Linked DNA regions of Homo sapiens: all the other regions are linked to region 3. Evidence: promoter capture Hi-C in 16 types of primary human blood cells and fetal thymus (Javierre and others, 2016). All regions are on one chromosome and are shown on one strand. The core of a region is centred on a gene start or on the middle of the fragment in contact, and the rest is flanking DNA. Distances in the headings are between cores, read along the strand shown.

What was found. The method cuts DNA at HindIII sites, captures the fragments that hold promoters and counts their contacts. A CHiCAGO score of 5 or more calls a contact.
Region 1: a contact is called between a fragment that was not itself captured here and the fragment with the promoter of FMNL3 in region 3, in 2 of 17 cell types (neutrophils and endothelial precursors). The highest score is 5.4, in neutrophils.
Region 2: a contact is called between a fragment that was not itself captured here and the fragment with the promoter of FMNL3 in region 3, in 1 of 17 cell types (endothelial precursors). The highest score is 6.9, in endothelial precursors.

Annotation. Positions count from the first base shown.
Region 1 is chr12:49,340,879-49,343,916 of GRCh38, reverse strand. No RefSeq gene overlaps it. Among named protein-coding and RNA genes, the nearest start is that of DNAJC22, 4.5 kb to the left of the region's middle. RefSeq lists an enhancer at 836-1,347 and a silencer at 1,549-1,688. The HindIII fragment of the contact is 8,852 bases long and covers 1-3,038 here.
Region 2 is chr12:49,266,719-49,269,437 of GRCh38, reverse strand. The region is part of intron 1 of TUBA1C (tubulin alpha 1c); the gene reads right to left. Among named protein-coding and RNA genes, the nearest start is that of TUBA1C, 3.0 kb to the right of the region's middle. The HindIII fragment of the contact is 1,629 bases long and covers 648-2,276 here.
Region 3 is chr12:49,705,882-49,709,031 of GRCh38, reverse strand. FMNL3 (formin like 3) reads left to right here and starts at 1,627. Exons shown (of 26, transcript NM_175736.5): 1 at 1,627-1,977. The coding sequence starts at 1,852. LOC124902929 (a long non-coding RNA gene) reads right to left here and starts at 1,306. Exons shown (of 3, transcript XR_007063299.1): 1 at 1,193-1,306. It also overlaps the pseudogene COX5BP5. RefSeq lists an enhancer at 1,044-1,193 and a silencer at 1,214-1,983. The HindIII fragment of the contact is 3,771 bases long and covers 995-3,150 here.

The DNA.
Region 1 (3,038 bases), core at 332-2,831, 370 kb after region 3:
GCCACATGGGTTGGAGATCACATCTCACATTTGGAGACCTTGTGTATGTGTATGTGTAGGGGTATGGGCTAGACAACTCTGGCAGTAATCACTTTGTTCCCCAGGGCACAGCAACTAGGTGTCCAAACTTTGGCCAAAAAAAAAAAAAAAAAAAAAAAAAAAAAAAAAAAAAAAAAAAATCCACTACTTTCAAAACCCTTGGGGTAGGGATGTTAGTGGTGAAGGTGCTGGAAGGGAGCAGCTGTCCTGACCAGCACTCTCACAGTTAACATCTAGCACCACCCCCACCCCCCACCCCAGCAGCACACCTCAGCTGTCACCGTGCGCACTGCCATTTCCTCCATAACTGGAGACAGAGCTGACAGCCAGCTGGGGGGTAGTGGGGAGACGGACACACAGGGAGGGGTGGTGGCTCATCCTCAGAGGGAATCTCACACCTCCACTGACAAAATCATACTGACACATACCTGGTACTGACACACACAGTCACTGACCTCCCACGTGCGATCCACATTCATCAATCCCTGTCATACACGCCATCTCTGAGTGCACAGTCACGCACAATCTCTCAGAGGTCAGGCCGAATCGCCTAGTCTTGAGACCTGCCTAATACCCTTCCTTGACATCTCAGACCTTAAATCACCTAACCCCAGAAGAGGGCTTAGGTCCCCGCCCTTGCTTCCCAGCCAGGGCCAGCTCCAACAACTGGGAGGCCGAGCTCAAGGAAGTCAAGTCCCAGGGTCAAGGCGAAGGACCGGGAGCAGATGGAGCAGTGGGACTGTTAAACGCTTGCCTTAGTCCCCTCCTGCTACTGGCCTCTTTCCCGGCACGTCCACTCGCAGCCCGCCCGGCCCGCCACCCGCCTGTCAGTCGAGTAATGAATGCGCGCTCGGGGCCACGGGCCCCCCTGGAGTCGTTCATCACTGCCAGCACCGCCCACCCCTCTGCCTCCCGCCGGGAGGGCTAAGCGGCCGGGGCTGTAAGAGCCCCTCACCCCGCATCTTGACCACTAATTGTCAGATTGAGATGTTGATTTGTCAGCTGGGAGCTAGCGCCAAAGAATCTGCAGTAAAACCTGGACTCCTTGAACTCCCTCTCGGCTCCCCTCGGGTTCGCCAGGACTTGGAGCCTTTTTTGAGCGGATGCGGATTGGTTGGATTTCACTGAACGGAGCGGGCATAGAAGCGCAGTGTCATTCAAAGCCGGCAGGAGGCGCGCCAGGCTAGAAACCCTTGGTTTCCCTAGGAGGGGTCGCCCTGGGCCTGGTTCCATCTGTACCTGCCGGACCTCTAAGGCTTGGTTCCCAGCTTCCCAGCAGGGGGCGCCCTGGACCCCGGGCCTCCGGTCTCCGCAGCTTTTGTTCCCTCTTCCCCACTGGGAGGCCCCAAGCCGCTAGCCCCAGTTTCCCTTCGGGGAGTGCCCGGGGCCATAATCCCCCACCCTTCGGCCAATGCCTCAGGCCACAGTCCTCCACTGCCCCGCAGGAGGCGCTCCTGCCGCAGGTCCGCCCTCGCCCTGTCCTGGGCGCCTAGGCTGCAGCCGCACCCCGCCCTCTCCCGGGCCGGGCCCAGGAGCTCCCTGGGCGGCCGGCTGAGTGACGGGCGGCCGGTGATTATGCGGAAGGGGGAGCGGGGTGCGCCGCGGGCGGCAGCGCTGACCCTTCACATTTCCGATCCGCTGGGACCCTCATCCATCCGAAGCTGCTCTTTGTCTGGCCGCCTAATTGCCGGCGGACAGGATGGATGGCGGGACCGACAGCCGCGGAATCCCTAATAAAGGCCGCGGCCGCCGGGGAGGGAGTGCAGGAGGGAGGGGGAGCAAGAGGGAAGGGATGGAAGAAGATGGGAGGAAGCACCGGGCAGCGGTCTCTGGCTCCGAGGCGCTGCGCGCGGCGCTCACTGAAGTCCAGCCCGCCTGGGGTGCTAGTTCGGGGTCCAGGTCCGGGTGCGGTGGGTTGGGGCTCGTTAAGTGTCCTGCTCGTCAGAGAAAAGCTGGGGACCCCAAGCAGAAAGAGCATCCTAGGGCCTTCCTCGCTTAGCCGAGCCCTCGAGACTTGGAGCTTAGCACTACCTCCTGGTCTCGGGGCTCTCATCAGTATGCGCCCCTACCTCAACTTCCCGCACCCCACCCGCCTCCTTTCACCTGTGGGTCTCCCAGACCCGGAGTCAATATCCCAGAGGAGAAATGAGGGGTCTGACAGCTCTCTGTGCAGCCGATCCCCACATTTCATTAACTGGAGGCTGGAGCTGGCAAGCGGTGGAGGCAGAGGGGGGCACAAAGGGAGGTGGAGGAGTCAAAGGCTAGGAGCAGCACCTGGCCAGGGGTGGAGGGCTGCCGAAGTAAGTCAGCAACAGCTCTGACCTGGCAGACACCTTGGAAGCAGTCTTTACCCACTCTCTGAGAAGCCAGGAGCTTGTCTTCAGCCCTGTGGACCCTGGTGCGATACTTTGAACTTAAGGTTGCACTGAGTTTTGGTGCCAGAGGCACTGGCTGATGAGTGGGAGCCCTGGGCCTGGCCGTGATGGCAGAGGCAGGAGGGTAGTCTCTGCAAGGAGGCAAACCATGAGCAGGTTCTTGGGCTGGGACGGTTTTCCCAGCTGCAGTCGGAGAACAGCCGGCTTCAGGCTTCCCTTTTGTCCCTTAAGCAAATTTTCCTTGACTCGCTTCGTTTTCCTTTGCCTTCCTTTTTCTCTGCCCTCTCTTCCTCCATCTGGACGGTTGTTCTCTGAAACTAACTTTGGCCATCCTTTAGCCAACAGTTGAGCACCTGTTGGGCATCATGCTTAACAGTGTCAGGGTGGGGGTTGGGGGATACACGGAGCCAAGACCCAACCCTTTTGGCCTCACATACAAAAGGCTCCCGGAAGCCATTCAAATCTCACTGCCCACTCCTGGCCTGCCTCTCTCACTCTTCCACTGCCTTGGGTGCCATTTGTCTCCTCTAGGGAACTGAGAAGGAAGCCAGGAGGTCATAACTCTAATTCCAGGACTATCCCTTACAGGGTGATAATGGACAAGCCATTTCCCCTTTCTGGGCC
Region 2 (2,719 bases), core at 213-2,712, 440 kb after region 3:
GGGTATAATACATCAGATGGGACATTTAGGAATGATTCACACCTAATGACTGATTAACCTTCAAGACAGATAACTGGCTGGGCGCAGTGACTCACACCTGTAATCCCAGTACTTTGGGAGGCTGAGGCAGGTGGATCACCTGAGGTCAGGAGTTTGAGATCTGCTTGGCCAACATGGCAAAACTGCATCTCTACTAAAAATACAAAAAAAATTAGCCAGGCATGATGGCGCACACCTGTAGTCCCAGCTACTTGGGAGGCTGAGGGAGGAGAATCACTTGAACTCAGGAGGTGGAGGTTGCAGTGAGCTGAGATCACACCACTGCCCTCCAGCCTGAGTGACAAGATATTCCATCTCAAACAAAAAAAGATAACCATCTTTCAGCAGGCCACTCCTGCTCAGGGACTATAATTTCAAAAGCAAAAATCTTTGAAGACCTAATTCAGCAAAAGTGCCTTGGAAAACCAAAGATGTGTTCATGAACTACTCGGCAAGACCAGACAGTTGCTTTGTAGCCACAGTAGATATGATTCCTTAAACTAAGGCAAAATTCCCCTTTCCAGCTCTGATTCATTCTCTGAATGATTGTGTAACTACTGAGCTCATTCTGGTCCCGCTTTAATCCTATTCTTTAGGAGACAAAAGCTTCTCTCTCCCTCCTTTAAAACCAGCTTAAACCAGCAAACTATAGCCATGACTCATGAAGAAAATGCTGGATAAGCAGCAGTTAGCTGTATTTTAAAAACTGTGGTCAGAGGCAGCTTTTTAACCAAGTGGAAGAATCTAATCTATAGGAAGAACGTTTTTCCTTCACCGTCAAAACATCTCCGGAAGAGGGAAGACCATAATAATAAAGGCTAGAAATGTTACCAAGACTTTACTGATAGGTTAAGAAATTAGTTGTTTCTGGCTCACACCTGTAATCCCAGCACTTTGGGAGGCCAAGGTGAGCAGATCACTTGAGGTCAGGAGTTTGAAATCAGCCTGGCCAACATGGTGAAACTGTCTCTATTAAAAATACAAAAAAAAAAAAAATTATGGTAGAGCACAGTGGCTCATGCCTGTAATCCCAGGACTTTGGGAGACCGAGGTGGGTGGATCATCTGAGGTCAGGAGTTCAAGAACAGCCTGGCCAATATGCTGAAACCCCATCTCTACTAAAAATACAAGAATTAGCCAGGCATGGTGGTGCGCGCCTGTAGTCCCAGCTACTCGGAAGACTGAGGCATGAGAATCACTTGAACCCAAACCCAGGAGGTGGCGGTTGCAGAGATCTCGCCACTGCACTCCAGCCTGGGCAACAGAGGCAAGACTCTGTGTCTGTGTCTGTGTGTGTGTGTCTCTCTCTCATAGATATATATTTATGAGGTGGACCAAGTTAATTTAGAAAGGCCAGAGGGGCCAAAGCAGAATATGGTTAGAAATTACCAAACCCACACCTGCTAAGTAAAATAAGGGAATAAACATAGAATCTGTACACACAGACTTAACAGGAAAACAAAAAGGGTGTTTGGCATTTCATCATAAGTCAGATTAGCCACTTTGGAGACTGGCAGAGCACTAAGTTCTCAAAGGACCTGGTCTCATAAGCCAAGAGATAATAAAAACCCTAATTACTCACAACCTTTGACCTCCTTCCCACCTACACTCCCCATGAAACAATCAAGGTCTCTTAACCACATCAGCAAGCTCAGTATCACCTGGGTCTACTCACCCAGCTCCAGGGGTGTGGGAGAACAGGAGTAGTTTGTTCTAATTAGCCCATGACTATTTACCATTGCATCATGTTTACCTTTTTGAGAAAAAGTCTCGCTCTGTCGCCCAGGCTGGAGTGCAGTGGAAACTCCGCCTTCCAGGTTCAAGCGATTTTCCTGCCTCAGCCTCCCAAGTAGCTGGGATTACAGGTGCCCACCACCATGCCTGCCTTATTTTCGTATTTTTAGTAGAGATGGGGTTTCACCATGTTGGCCAGGCTGGTCTTGAACTCCTGACCTCGGGTGATCTACTCACCTCGGCCTCCCAAAGTGCTGGGATTATAGGCGGGAGCCACCACGCCCGGCATCATGTTTACCTTTAACTGGACTTTGGAAACGCCCAAGCCCCAAAAAGCTGGAGATAACCAGATACCTGATCATGATGGCCCCCAGGCCCAAGGAGATAAAGTATCTGAGAAGATCCACTCATTCTAACAAATGCTTCTTCTGTTTAAATGCCGTTTCTATTTTGCGCCCGCAATTTTTCTTTCATTGCTCAGTCTAAACTGCCTTCTTGAAGCTTAGCAGGCAGTCAGCGGCCACTGACTTACCCTCCACTCTCCCCTGGCCACGTGGGAGAAAGTGAGGCACAGGTGGAGTCAATTGGTCTAGTGTTAACTGGATAAGCAGCTCTTACCTCTCGTTAAAAAACAAGAAAATTTAACCAGTGTTCACCTAAACCAGTCCGCTGCCGCTCTCCTGCTTTTTAAAGGGTCTCACTACTTTGTGAATCCCACTTTTACCAGTATCTTTTTGGTACTGCTTGAAAAGAAGCAATAAGTTGTTACAGTGCGACATATACATGTATTTACATTTGATTTTTATATTTAAATTCATGTACGTATTTTTGAGATAAGGTCTCGCTGGAGTGCAGTGGTGCGATCTGGGCTCACTGCAGCTTCCACCTCCCGGGATCAAAAGATCCTCCCACCCCTGCCTCCCGAGAAGCTGGGACTACAGGCACG
Region 3 (3,150 bases), core at 378-2,877:
TCCAGCTCTGAAAATTAACCTTGAAGCCATCATGCCTGTGACAAGCAACAGCTGTGTTTATTTATTTATTGAGACAGAGCCTCACCCTGTCACCCAGGCTAGAGTGGAGTGCCATGAACATGGCTCACTACAGCCTCAACCTCCTAGTTTCAATTGATCCTCCTGCCTCAGCCTCCCAAGTAAGCAACTCTATTTAAAATCTTAATGCCTCTTCCATCTCTATCACCTTTCAGTTTTATTTTTATTAACACTGATCACTAACATCTATACATTTTACTCGTCTAGTTTATTGTCTACCTTTCCTTCTACACAGATTGTGAATTCCAAGAGGACACAATGTATATCCTGTTTGTTCGCAGATGTACCTTCAATGCCCAGAATAGTATCTGGCATAGAATAAACTTTCTAAAATAAATATTTGTTGAATAAATGAATTAAAAATCTAGGTGATAACTTCAGGCATGGTTAGATCCAGGTTCTTGGCATGTCATTAGAATTTTGTCCTGTCTCATAGCTTTTCTCTCCTCTGCGCTGGCTTCATTCTCAAGCAGGCTTGATGTGTTACAGGTGATGATAAGACGGCCACCAGCGGCTGCAGGTTTACATTCTAATAATTTTGCAGCCTAAATGGAGAGAGAGTGAGTGCCTCTTTCCTGATTGTTTCAGAGAAAGCCTTGGATATATCATATTGTCTGGGCTTGGGTCAAGTGACAATCCCTAAAACAGTGTCCATGGGTAGAGGAGGAAAATGTTGTGACTGACTGGGCCTGGGTCATGCGGTCCTTTGGAACTGGGGATAAAATTCAGCTCCATTTAGACTGAGAAGAGGGGAGAGGTGGTTTCCTAAAAGAAAAGGGGGTGCTCTCACTGGAAGAAGATGGCGGCTAGACAACAAATTTCCACCGCAAATGTCAACGACCCAGCCGCCGACTGAGCCCAGAACAGCGTTCTTCTCCCGCCTCTCCATTTTCACACGCAGCCAGATGGTTAAGCTTCTCTCCTCCCAAACGTTTTTTCCCCTGCCTCTGTCGGGTAAGGGCTTCCTCATCCCTCAATGCCTGGTCCAACTATGATCTCCCTCACCCCGACTCTTAACAGGTACTATCTCTCTCCCTCTTCTGAGTATCCTGCTTGTTTCTACTTCTCTTGTAGTTAGTTTTGTACGCCATGCCTTGTATAATATTTTACTTACTTGTATACATCATGAGTTCCTTTTGAAAAAGGGTACGGTCCATTCCCGGTGTGTCCACGCCAGCCCCTCACGCCCTCTGGGAACCGCGGTGATTCGATGCCGGCTGAGGCCGCCAGGGAGCGCTCGGCGCCCGGCACGAGGCCGTCAAGGGCGGGAGGCGCTGTGATTGGCAGACGCGGCCGTCAATCGGGCGCAGGTGGGGCGGGCCGGGCCGCCTGTGAGGCCTCTGGGCGGGAGGCGGGGCCTGCATGAATGGGGCGCGCGTCGCGCGGGCTGCAGTCGGCGCTCGCGGGGGAAGCCCGAGTCTCGGCCGGGTGTGGGTGGGAGGAAGCGAGGTTGGCGGGGGAAGGGAAAGAGCGCGGGGGGCGGGGAGGGGCAGCGCCCGGGCGGCGCGCCGAGCGCGGCGAGGCGGCGGGTGTGAGCAAGAGCCGGCCGCCTCCGTCCGCCTTGCTTCGGTGCGGCTGTCCGCTACGCTGCCTCCGCCCTCGCCGCGCGCCCCCGCCAGCGGGACTCCAGGGAACCCCCGGCGCCCTCGACGGGGCCGAGGAGTCGGGACTCGGGGAGCCGGCGCTGAGGGAGGAGCCTGGTCGGAGCCGCGGAGCCGAAAGCTCCGGAGCGTGGAGGTGGGGGGCCGAGGCCCCTGAGGGGGCCCCGCCGCGATGGGCAACCTGGAGAGCGCCGAGGGGGTCCCGGGAGAGCCCCCCTCTGTCCCGTTGTTGCTGCCGCCCGGCAAGATGCCGATGCCTGAGCCCTGTGAGCTGGAGGAAAGGTTCGCCCTGGTGCTGGTGAGAGCTGAGCCCAGCCCCTTCCCCCGCGTACCGCCCCTCAGGTCCCGACGCCCGGGCTGGGACTTTGTGCTGGGCCCCCGTCCCGCCCACCCTTTCAGTCGGGGTCCCGAACGGATCCCGGCCTCCAGTGTCTTCCCAGGAACCTCTGAGCAGCCGCTGGCCGGCCCGGACAGCCCCGTCGGGGATCTCGGGACCGACGCCTCCACCGCTGGACCCTTAGGAGAAGTCCCCAGTTCGGGACCGTCCTAGGAACCAGGCTTCTCCCTCCTTCTTCCTCCCCCTTCTGCTGCCCTTTTCCCGTTTCCCCGCTTCTTCGCCAGGCTCCCCGTCCCTAGCATTCTCAGCCCGGAGCCTCTCGCGGGTGGGGGGAATTCAGAAGCGCGGCCGGCTCGCTCCTCAGCAGGCTTCCCTGAGTGGGGACACCGCCTCTCCTGCGAACATGGAGGCTTCCCAGGGAGTGGGTCCCACTCCCAGCCCAGACCAGATGTTTGGGGGGAGAGGGGGATGGGGAGGCGGCTGGCAGCTCCTGAAGGGGGTGGAATAAAGAGTATGCCATTCTGCTTATTTTCAGAACGGCCTGCAGGCATCCTGCTAAGTTAGAGTGGATTTGCCTGAAAGGCTGAACATGTGGATAAACCATTTCACTGGGGTATTTCTCCAAGTGAAACAATACACAAACCATCCCGCCTCCTCCCCCCCTTTTCACGTTAAGCCATAGTGACTGGTTTGTGTTGTTTAGCCTGTGCTTTTTAGTCTTTCTGTGGGTTTCAAACGGTCTGTATAAATGGGTTTTTAGAGCTGACTTTGGGATTCTTCTTTGGTGTGGGAATTGGACATTGATGTCAGTGGCTCTATGAAGCGAGAGGTTCTGAGCTGGTATCACCGGGAAGGAGCCAGAAAATATGTTTGCGCTGAAAATGAAGTTTTGCAGAGCGAAAACATTGGTAAACCGGGGTTAATCTTTGAGAAATTTGGGGAAATAGTTCTCACTTCCCCAAAGAGTTTTCTAAGAAGCAGTAATAATTCTGGCGTTATTGTTGGTATGGCCGACTCTGCCTTTGCCTCTGCCCATCAGGAGGGATAAGTTGTGGACTTAGCAGCCTTATTGGATTTCATCTGCCTTGGAATAAGGAGATTAGATCTGTTGGCAACAGTGGAGCTGTCTAGAGA